Linked DNA regions of Homo sapiens: regions 1 and 2 are each linked to region 3. The links are contacts of gene promoters, found by promoter capture Hi-C in blood cells and fetal thymus (Javierre and others, 2016). All regions are on one chromosome and are shown on one strand. Each heading gives the region's core, a stretch centred on a gene start or on the middle of the fragment in contact. The rest is flanking DNA. Distances are from core to core; before and after follow the strand shown. Region 1 overlaps EPB41L4A (erythrocyte membrane protein band 4.1 like 4A). Region 2 has its middle 58 kb from the start of EPB41L4A-AS1. Region 3 holds the start of STARD4-AS1 (STARD4 antisense RNA 1).

What was found. Contacts are between HindIII fragments. The CHiCAGO score rates a contact against its expected background, and 5 or more counts as called.
Region 1: a contact is called between a fragment that was not itself captured here and the fragment with the promoter of STARD4-AS1 in region 3, in 1 of 17 cell types (monocytes). The highest score is 6.5, in monocytes.
Region 2: a contact is called between a fragment that was not itself captured here and the fragment with the promoter of STARD4-AS1 in region 3, in 1 of 17 cell types (monocytes). The highest score is 5.1, in monocytes.

What each region holds. Positions count from the first base shown.
Region 1 is chr5:112,186,605-112,190,317 of GRCh38, reverse strand. The region is part of intron 17 of EPB41L4A (erythrocyte membrane protein band 4.1 like 4A); the gene reads left to right. Among named protein-coding and RNA genes, the nearest start is that of SNORA13, 27 kb to the right of the region's middle. The HindIII fragment of the contact is 2,049 bases long and covers 428-2,476 here.
Region 2 is chr5:112,101,135-112,104,558 of GRCh38, reverse strand. No RefSeq gene overlaps it. Among named protein-coding and RNA genes, the nearest start is that of EPB41L4A-AS1, 58 kb to the left of the region's middle. The HindIII fragment of the contact is 5,460 bases long and covers 1-3,424 here.
Region 3 is chr5:111,509,984-111,513,824 of GRCh38, reverse strand. STARD4-AS1 (STARD4 antisense RNA 1) reads right to left here and starts at 1,599. Exons shown (of 7, transcript NR_040093.1): 1 at 1,317-1,599. It overlaps STARD4 (StAR related lipid transfer domain containing 4), which reads left to right and starts at 1,290. Exons shown (of 6, transcript NM_139164.3): 1 at 1,290-1,440. RefSeq lists enhancers at 826-965, 1,446-1,655 and a silencer at 1,046-1,415. The HindIII fragment of the contact is 3,364 bases long and covers 1-2,775 here.

The DNA.
Region 1 (3,713 bases), core at 203-2,702, 680 kb before region 3:
CCCCCCCCTTAAAACTTACAAAGTTTTATCATCTAAATAGTGAAGGATTACATTGTTACTGGGAAATGAAATTGGTGTTTCAATTCACTGGTAGGATTAAAAACTAAAATGCCTAAACTTTCTTTAGAGATTACTTTGCTATACTAATTTGTGAAACAGTTGATTCTATTGAATTCTTGAAGTTGGGAACCTACCTAGTACAAGGCACTATAAAGTTAATCTACATGAATATTAGATTCTATTAGTTAGAATTTTGAATCTCGTCCCTGAGATCAGAAGGGCCAGCAGCTCGCTTATTGCTGTAGGTTTGAGACCATGGGCCATGTGCTGGACTTGCCCAGGGTGTAGGATGAAGGAGGACCTCGCAAGTAGACTTAGGAGAGTGAAACCTTTGATGAACTAGCTTTACCTGGATATGTCTTAAGCTTAATAAAATATCCTTGACATTCAAGGAAAAGGTTCTACAAAATATCCTTTGTGCTATTGATGAAAATCAGCAGTCCTTTGAGCATTCACTGAGGAGAATCTTTGAATTACTCATTCATTCATTACCTTTGATGTGTTTCTAGGCTCTTAGAAGTTTGGAAGTGGGAGATGTGGAGGAGTGGGTGACATGAGATAGTCTGGTGCGTTTTTTTCCATCAGCATAAAAGTAGAAATAACTTGGGAGCCTACCAAGTATTAAAACAGAGAAACGAGAGCAGCTTAGGGTAATAGTAGAACTAGAGGAAATTGACAACAGGGGACTATTTGAACGTTTCCCTAATTTTATTCTAGGATGTTTGCATCATAAACATGAGTCATGTACGTCAGTGTCAGGCTGCATGTTTGTGTACATATATATGTACATGCAAATCTGGGAGCCTGTACTATGAAATTGAACCCACTTTGAAGAATTCTGTGGCTTTGAGCTGGTTACTTTATCCTGTGAATCTTCATTTCTCACATGCAAAGTGGAATAATACCTGACCTGCCTACCTCACTAGAGGTTTGTGAAGTTCCCGAGATAATAGATGTGCTTTGAAAAGTAGAAAGTGCCCTGCACAGGCAAGTTCTGTTAAATTGATAACATCCAGCACTGCTCAGTATTTTCTGAAGTTCCTGCAGGATCTGTAAAATGGGGACCAGCTCCCTTGAACAAGAAATAAGTCAGTGTTTTCTAACATGAGTTTGTTCTGGCATGAATGTTGCTAGTTTCTCCCTAACAACATTGGGGTCTTTTAGATGTCTTTTAGGGTCTACCAGATGTCTACAGTATCTAAATAGTAGATTAAGACAGATTTAAATATTTTAATTATGTTCCATAAGGTCTTTTATATTGTTTTTCTAAAATGAGGAAGCACATTTCTGTGTGAGAAATTTGGCACTGTAAGAGGGACAATATATCTGACTAGGGCAAATCTAGAAGATCACAATTTTGGTAGGATTTTGTTTTGGGAGTGGTAAAGAAGAACTTTATTGTCCCTGTACCCTAGGGAAAAAATATATTTGGGATGTTAGCAAACTTAAACTGATGGGCATTTCTTCCGTCTTGCTTGAAAATAGGTAACCGCTTCCTTGCCAGGAACTGCCTACTGTCCTGCCCCTGATTTAGGGGCTGCAAACGAGGTAAAAATTTTGGGTACGGAGAGAAGAGTTCGTACAAAGCTAGTGGAAACAGTGTTCACCGTACTGCAGATGCAAGGGTTTCTGATTTCTACTTTAATAGGATATATCAAGATTTAGACATTTGATATGGTTGATTTAGGGCTTCCAGAGTATAATCAAGGTTGGCAGAGATGACTGTGGAAGGACAAAGCCGCAGCAACTGAGGAATGCTGTTACATTACTGAGTGAGGGCAAAATAGGTTAAAAATTCATGAAAACAGGAGAGTTTGAAAGGGAAATTGCGCCAGAGGTAGCCCATTGTAGTAGTGGGCACGTAAGGAATAAGTGGAAGAGACAGAAGTACCTTTAAGAGCAAATAAGAATAATTTATTGATGGTAGAGACAATGGGAAAAGCAAATGAACTTTTTGCTTGCTGGTCTTAAGGGAGTATGTCGACACATGCCTGGAACCAACATACATTTCCCTAGGGAAGAAAAACTAGAAAAAAAAAAGATTGCTTTATAGCAGGTGATCCAAAAAAAATGAGTACAGTTGATGAGAAACACAAGTTCACAATCAGTTGGGGCCTGCAGATTTAATTTTGGCAATGGAGGGGCCATGTGAAGCAATTGTCTGGAATGTTATGCTATAGTTGAAGAGTGTAAGTTTCTTTCAGTGTGTCTGTCTGGTTTGGAAATAAAATACAAATAGAGAAACATCAAGTTTTAAAGCTAGAAAGGATCTTTGCCATAATTTTATATATGAACAACCTGAGACTTGACCAAAAAAGATAAGCAGTTTGTCCAAGGTCTCTGAGTCAGATAATGGCAGAGCTGGGAATGGAGAAAACTCAGGAGCAATGTTTATGGCTTGTATCATCTTGAAGCTTCATTTTACATTCTCTCTGAAAGACTTCTTAGATTCAGCATTAAGCATGGTGTTTATCTCAGTGAATTAGAAGTGAATTAAGAACTTATGTAAAGAAAGGTTCTGTTAGGAGCAAAACTGCTAAAGGGAGAGGACACAATAAAACTCGGGGATTTGTGTAAGAATTCATTGGTAATGTGAAGAATTTTGCAAAAGAGGAAGGACTGTAATTGGTAAGACAGGAAAGAAGAGGCTAGGAATAGTCATTTTCTTCATTGTTATCAAATGATTATATGGCATTTCATCTTCAAAACCTTTGCAGACCTTAATTAAATGTCAAATGCAGTTAAAATCTAAATTGTATGGATAGTCTGGAAAAGTAGAGTGTTGAAGTTTGGTAAGAGATGGAAGAAATACATTAGAATTCTGTTCTGAAACATGGTTAGAATTTGCTGTATTCTAAAGCAACCCTCTCCCTTATACATTAACTGAAAAACAAAAACCTTGTTATGATATACTTCCTACCACAGTTGTTGACCCTCCATAGTTACAGATGGAGAAATTGACAAAATAGGATAAATGTAGACTTATTGGATCAATTAGTACTGGAAATAAATGTTTGTTAGTTTATTGAGGTTCACCTTTAGATGCAACATTTGAAAATTAATAGATCCACAACATAAATGACAACGGACTCTTTTTCCTTTTTGAGACTTTGATGACTATGATGTAAGAGCACATTTTGACTTTTTAAAAGGTACTATGTCAAAACAATGTTTGTGGTATTTTATTCTTCATGATGTAAATCTATACATCGAGATTAAAATAGAGCAGGAAAGGAGCAAAAAACTATTTGGATCCCCCATACCTGAGAATAAATGAGACTTAAAAAGTCAGAATTATCACAGTAAACATATCTTTTTCATTTAAAGATTTCTTTATTCACTCATGCATAAACAAAATAGTTACTCCTGCCTCTTAAGGACAAAGTGCTACAATATTCTTGCTTCTAGGGCTAGGATTTTTTTCTTTCCAAGTAGCACCTGTGTTTTTTGGAGCGGTTCAGCAGTGGAAGAAATGACACTTTCATTCTTGTAATGAGGCACCATTAACTAGAGGTCTTTTGTAAGGATGTAATTTCAAACTTCATTACAGGCCAAGGCCGCCACACTACCCATTACTCAGGAAAATGTGCTTCTGTTGTGACTCTCCAAAGGCTCTTACATTTTTAATGCATCTTGTTAGAATATTTATGAAA
Region 2 (3,424 bases), core at 1-2,500, 590 kb before region 3:
ATCTGCCAGCTCTCGGACAGCTGTTTTATATTGACCATAGTTGTAGAAAACCCCTGGTAGAGATGAGGGACATGCTACACCTGCATGCATTTTGTTTCCATAGCAATGGCTGTTGGCAAAGGTGGGTCATGAGGGTGTGAGGTAGGGTGTAAGATGTGTAGAATATACTCTGTGTGTTGTTTTGTAACTTGCATGTTTTTTTGAGTCAGTTTGTATGTGTTTTTTTTTACTGTTTTAACCTGACCTTATTAGTTCTGCTCATTTTTTGGTTTTTAAAATTCATTAATTTCTGGTTTTACACTTATTATTTTATTGCTTTTTCTTATGGGATTGTTTTGTTTGCCTGTTCTAATCTATTGAATGTAATGCTTAGATTTTCTTTTTTTTAAATTAACAATGTAAGTATTTGAGGCCATATATTTTCTTCACAGGCTATGTAGCATATTGGAGTTTTCTTGGTAATAATTTTCAACCTTTATTTCATTATTGTCCTTTTAAAAAGAAAAAATTTAAATTTATCATTAATAAAAAATGGTATAGTGAAGAATAAAATTTTGTTGAATAGAGTTGAGCTTTGGTCAACCACAAATGATTTTAATGTCTAATATTTTTCACTTCCCAAGAACCAATTTTCACCTCTTGGGAGGTAATATACTCTCTGTTGAGAATGCATCATTTAATAAATACTTCCTAAGCACTTTCAAATTTCATTTAAGTCTCAGATTAGCCCTATGAAATAGGCACAATCCTTGTTGTAATATAGTGTTTTTAATGTCATTAAAGACATTCTGTGATTTTGGGTTTCTTCTTTGACCTAAAAGTTGTTTGACAGAGAGGTTTTTTTCTTCAACGTTTTATTTTGAAATAATATCAAACTTTCAAATAAGTTGCAAGAACAAAGAGCCACCCTATACTCCTGAGTCAGTTTCACCAATTGTTCACATTTTACCACATTTACTTTATCATTCTGTCTCGCTCTTTGGCACCGCCCCTGCCGCCCCCACCCCACCAACCACTGCCCACAATTTCTTTTCTGAACAAATTTACAGTGAATTGCAGTCAAGATGCCTTATTTCCTCTAATATTCAGTATGCAGTTTCTGAAGTAACCACTATACAACCCAGGTAATCACAGTATAACCAACTGAAAGAGAAAATTAACATTGACACAATTCTGCCATTGAATCCAGAGACCCTACTTACATTTTGCTAATTGTTCCAATAATACCCTATAGCAAATGGATGCAAGACCTAATCTAGAATTACATGTTGCATTTAATTGTCATGTCTCTTTAGTTTTGTTTGGTCTAGAATAGTTTTAGTATTTTCTTGTCTTTTGTAACTATGACATTTTTAAGGTATACATATTATTTTTTTGCTTTGGTTGAATGTCGCCTAATTTAGGAGTTCAGTATTTCTTCACGATTAAATTCTATTTATGAATTTTTGGCAGGAATATTACACAAGTACTCTGTTCTTCACGATGTATCATATCAGGAGATATACAATGTCAATTTGTCCCATTTTTGGTGATGTTAAATTGAATCATTGGTTTGAAGTGGTGTCTGTCAGTTTTCTCTTCTGTGAAATAATTATATTTTCCCCTTCCCCTTTGTAATTAGTTAAGTACTTTGTGTGGAGAAATGTTGAGTTTATATAAATGTTTCTCAGCAAACTATCTCCTATTACTTTTAGTACCCATTGTTGATTCTTGCCTGATTCAATTATTACTATGATGGCTGCAATTTTTAAATTCTCTTATTTCTTTAATATTTATTAAAAAGAAATATATATTCCTACATATTTCTATGAGCTTGGATGCACAGATTGGAACACTTTATTATCACTATTAATTTTAATGCTGAAATTGATACAGTTTTGGCCAGTAAGAACCTTCAAGCTGTTCTTAAGTTTTTTATGACAACAACGGATCATATGATGCCTTCTGCAAGACTTGGTGGTATTTGCAAAAACTATGGGAGGCACAGAATGTCTGGTTGTCTCTATTTTTGTCATGTGAACATACTATATCTCTTAATTCATTGAGTTCAAAAATAATCATTACCCAGTGGTATAGGGCATAATAGAAAGGTAGAATTTGAGATAAGGAATTAGTTTCTTATCAATCTCTGAAGGTGACCAATGACTACTTTTTAGTATCATTATAAACTTATGGCTTAAATATGTTTGGTAGATTTCAATTCATGGCAATTATTGTCTTTATTGAAGCTCATCTTTAACCAGTGGAAGTCTCTCCAAGTTCTTGAATTTTTGGATGTAACCCTAATAATCTTTGATAGTGGCTTCTTATCTGGCGTGACAAAATATTCCAGATTTATTTTATATATTTCTTGTTCTAGCTCTGTAATCAGCCATCTGAGACTGTATCTCAATCTCTCAAAAAATTTTCACCCCCCAAGAAAAAATCAAAATTTTTTAATTAAGCTAAAATTAATATCTAATAACTAAAATTAAAGTAATTAAATTAAATACTAAGAAATAAGATTTTTTTTCAGGTTGGGTTGAGCTTTGGAAGATCACAAACAATTGTAAGACTTTTTTCATCCCCCGTAAACCAATTTTTTCCCCTTTGGGGGCAATGTCACCCCTACTGAGAATCATGCTGTAAGATGCCCTAGTAGAAATGATATTTTAAGACCACAATCTGAGCACTAGGAATACAATTTAGTTTTCTTTCCTCTATAAGTCACTTGTTCTTCTTTTTTTAAATGCCTAATGGATATTTCACTTTTTCTTTAAACTCCAGAAATTCTACTAGCATATGTCTTGTTGTTAGTAATTATGAACCTTCATACGTAGTTTAGGGGATTTTTTTTTTTTTCAATTGATACAGAGTCTTGCTCTGTCGCCCAGGCTGGGATGCAGTGGCATGAACACGGCTCACTTCAACCTCCACCTCCTGGGCAAGTAATCCTTCTGCCTTAGCCTCCCAAGCAGCTGGGACCACAGGAATGAACCATCATACTTGACTAAAAAAAAATGTTTTTTGTAGAGATGGGGTTTCACCGTGTTGTCCAGGATGGTCTCAAACTCCTGTGCTCAAGCAATCCTCCCAGCTCAGCCTCCCAAAGTGCTGGGCTTACAGATGTGAACCACTGTGCCCAGCTGGGAAAATTTTAAGGAAAGTTTTATTAAATTATAGTTTTTAGTAAATGTTCTCAAATCTTGCTTAGGTTTTCTTTTTTCAGGGACTCCTTTTATCAGTATAAATTGTCTTTGCTTATGTTCAATATTTACCACTTTGTCTTAAATCATTTTTAACTGTCTTCATTGCTTTTATATTTTTGTCTTAATTCCCTTTTAATTTTGAAAATAATCCTTCTTTTCATCTTATCATTCTCATAAGACATTACATACTATGTCTATTTGCTTTTCTGCTCCTTCATGTTTATTCTTCATTACTA
Region 3 (3,841 bases), core at 350-2,849:
GTTAAGAGGATTCAATGTAATTGAATTAAGTAGGTACAACTTAATTACAAAGCACTTTTCCCCAACCATTTCAAATTATTTATCTACGTATTCATCCATCCATCCAAAGCACCTCAATAATTGGCCAATAATTCCTAAGTGAAAGGAGCTTTACAACACACGAAGAACTCTTCTATTATGTCACACGAAATTATAAATATAAATATAAAACAAATTATTTTACATATAAACGATGGAGGTAAAAAATAAATCGGCCAATAATAACTAGCAAGTAGTATTTGGTAATTCTTTTGGTGAGGCCGACTTAAAAATTTACGAAATATTATTTATTTTCATTGCAAGTCTATCAGAAATCACTAATGGTGTAGCACTGCATTCTTCCCTGCTTTTGGTTCTCAAACTACGTATCTTAGTAAACGCAATTTGCAGACAAACCAAGCCTCGCTAATCAGTGCATCATGGCTACTCTGGTAAAGGAAGAAATTCACTGTTTGCCAAGCATCCCATCAGATGGGTGACTTCACAGCCACTGGAAGAAATCTTTCTCATGTTCGAGTAGATGGAAACTCCAAAACTGTGCAGTTGCTAAATCCACTTGTCACACCTCCTCCTTTTCTCTGCTTCTAAGGTTGCCCTCTAAACTCTTTATCTGAGGATGGAAACACACACACGCACCCACACACACCCACACCCACACACACACAAACGTATTTGGCTAAAGGTCAATTCACATAGTGGCAGGGACTTTCGTTTATATGCATTTTCCTTCCCAGCTCTCTCAGTTCTGAGTCAGGCTAAGCAGGAGGCAGAGAGCTCGTCCTCCTCTGCATGGGCGCTTTTTCTTATTTGACTTTTAGTCCTGGGAGGAGTAGCGTAGTTGCGAGATACTAGGATATCCACAAGCGGGATGAATTTGGACCTTATCCCTCACTGTGATCCTTCACTTCGCCTTCTGTTTCAATTTCTCCCAGTCGGTTTACTGCTTGACAAAATTCTTTCACAATTAAGTGATCACAGGACAACCCAACCCAACCAATCCAAACCTGCAGGCAACCCCAGACATCCAGGGAACCCTGGCGCGGCTCGGGCCAGCCCACACCCACGCGGAATCATTCCATTTATCGGCCACCAATCAGCCCTCCACACGCTCCCGCGCCAGCCAATCCGAACAAGCGCACGTTGTTCCGGCCACCTCCTCTCAGCCCCCCCTCCCCGGAGCCCCCGGGATCGGGCCAGGGGGCGGGGCTGGGGGCTCGGCCCGCCTTGCCCTGAGGCGCTGGGTGCCTTCCAGTTGGCTGCGACCAGCGGTGACTTACAAGTTGGCTGCTGTCGCCTGCGCATCGGCGGGCCGGGAGGCTGAGCAGTACTGTTGAGAGCGGTGTGAGGTGCTTGGTAGCGCGCCGTAGCTGCTTCCACGTCCTTGCTTCACCTCAGGTAAAGGTAAGGAGAGCCACGGAGCCGCGGCAGGATTGGGGTGGCCCGTGTGGAGGGCGACTGTGGCGCCCGGGGCGTCCTGCCAGGTGCGTCTTCTGGACCTGCTCCAGACCATGGATCTGGGGAGCTCGCGGTGGACGTTGGGGATGGCGGGCCCCGGCGTCCGGGCGGGAGAGGACCTCACAGATGAAAGAGAAACCTGAGCCCCTGGGAGGGGAAGCGGCGAGCTGGAAGGATCCCAGGGCTTGCAACTCGCCCCTGCGCGCCGCTCACCTATTTAAGTACTTGGAATCCATTAGACCTCAGTGTCCTCAGCTGTTAAATGGGAGAGGGGCGGTGGTAATCCCGCTTGATTTGGGACAGTCCTGTTCTTTGGAGGTCACCGCGCTTCCTGGTTCTTAGGAGGTGCACAGACAGCGCAGGGGCAGCCGCGTCCCACCAGGCTTCGCGGAGGTGATGCCAAAGACAAGAGACAAAGTTTTCCCAGGGCTTACTGCCTTCCAAGGTCCCTGCTAAATGTATTAACTCAAATAATTTCTCACCAAATCAGTGTCATTGTTTTCCCGAATTTACACTTGAGAAAGATTACCTTAGATTTTTAGGTTCAGCAGCCAGGACAAAACTTGACAAATATTTGGTGGGCCCAGGTTTTTTATATGAAGTCTTTTCCAGCCTGTGATCAGCTTCCACAGTTTTACAAGAGAGAGCTTTAGGCTCTGAAGTCAGACGCCCTGGGTTGGAATTCTGGCTCCATCACTTATGAACTGTGTGATCTTGGACAAGTGACTCAACCTTCCTGTTGCTATTTTCCCTTTCTGTAAAACAGGGAAAATGTATAGACATTAAGCTACTATTCTCACTTATGGAAGACCTCAAGATATCTAAAGTATGCCCATTTACACCAATCCTAGAGCTTCTGAATAACTAAAATTCCTTTACCATAATGAAACACATTTTCTCAAGGAGGACTATTACTGTTGTGAGGATTAAATAAAATAAATGCAATGTAAAGCAGCCAGAAGGACTGACCATGTAGTAAGTGATCAATAAATGTTATTGTTATTTTTTAAAATCAAGTACAGAGCATTAGGTTTTTTTTTTAATCAAGTATTAGAGCATTAGGGGTTTGAACAGTAAGTTGGCTCACTATTCATATTGTAGAAATATACTTCCATGTTGCATTTCTTTAAATAGTGAGCTCCTGCCAGAGCCAGTCTCAAAAAATGAGAAGCTGCTGTACTTGTCTGAGTTAGAAAACTTAACAGTTCAACATTGATTGGAAATCAAGCATATGCTGAAATTTTTATGTTAGTTAGAAAATATAATTTAATTTACAAAGCTTTGGTTTGTATGACATTGGGGAAAGTCCATGGCATGTTAAACTGAAGCTGTTGACGGAAGTGAAAACCATATTAATCAAGTAATGCAAGGTTAGACCGTTCTGATACCTGCATTTCTTTAACAAGTGAATTCTGACCTAGTCGTACTACAAAAGTCCAAACAGATTTTTATGGCATTCACTTTACATTACAGGTTAAATGTTTTATTATGTTCCATATTTAAAATAGAACCTATGCCATCTCACTGTGACAGATATTTGAGAATAATTGGAGTTGGATTGGTCAAGACTATGGTGCTGATAGATGGCCTCAAGAAAAGTAACTTGAGACAGCTGCCCTCCCTATGATGGCAGCCACTATCACCACTAGTGATAGCTTCAAAAGCATGGGCATAGAAAACATGAACAAAAAGATTAAAGGAAAAACATGGAGGTGGACATTACTCAGCATTTGGCCATGGGACTGACAAGAGTATAAAATCTTTTATATGAACCTATTATATTCTGATAAGGTTAAGTGGTGCCTGTTCTCTCTGACGTGTAAATGTTAGAGTTGGATAATTTCCTGATATAAGGTCAAGATAAGGGAATAAAAGACTGAATTAGTAAAAGGAAGTTCAGAATGGGTTCAGAATGGCATTTAAAACATTTACCTGACATTCTCCACAGTTGGAGATTGCAGGAGGGCAAATTAGGTGTTTTCCTCTCAATTAATGTCAGTACCCTGTTATATTAGGAGAGAGAGCCAAGACCTTGATAACCCATCTCCCCCAACCCTCTTGGTTCTAGAATATATTAATATTTTGAGAAATGCTCAATTATGCCTGTTTACACAGAGGTAGCAGTTTTGATGGCAATGATTATTTCATTATGGACTTAATCTTGATGAAAATAATCCATGCAAGACTTAACTGTTTGGTTAAATACATTGCTGGACATATTTAATCAGAGAGAGCTTTCTGATTTTGTACTTCTTTCTCTTCCTTTCCTACCTCCCACTGCACCACTCTTAAAAAGGCTATTAATAGAATTTTTTAATGTTTTAGTTTTTGTTGTTGTTATTTCTGT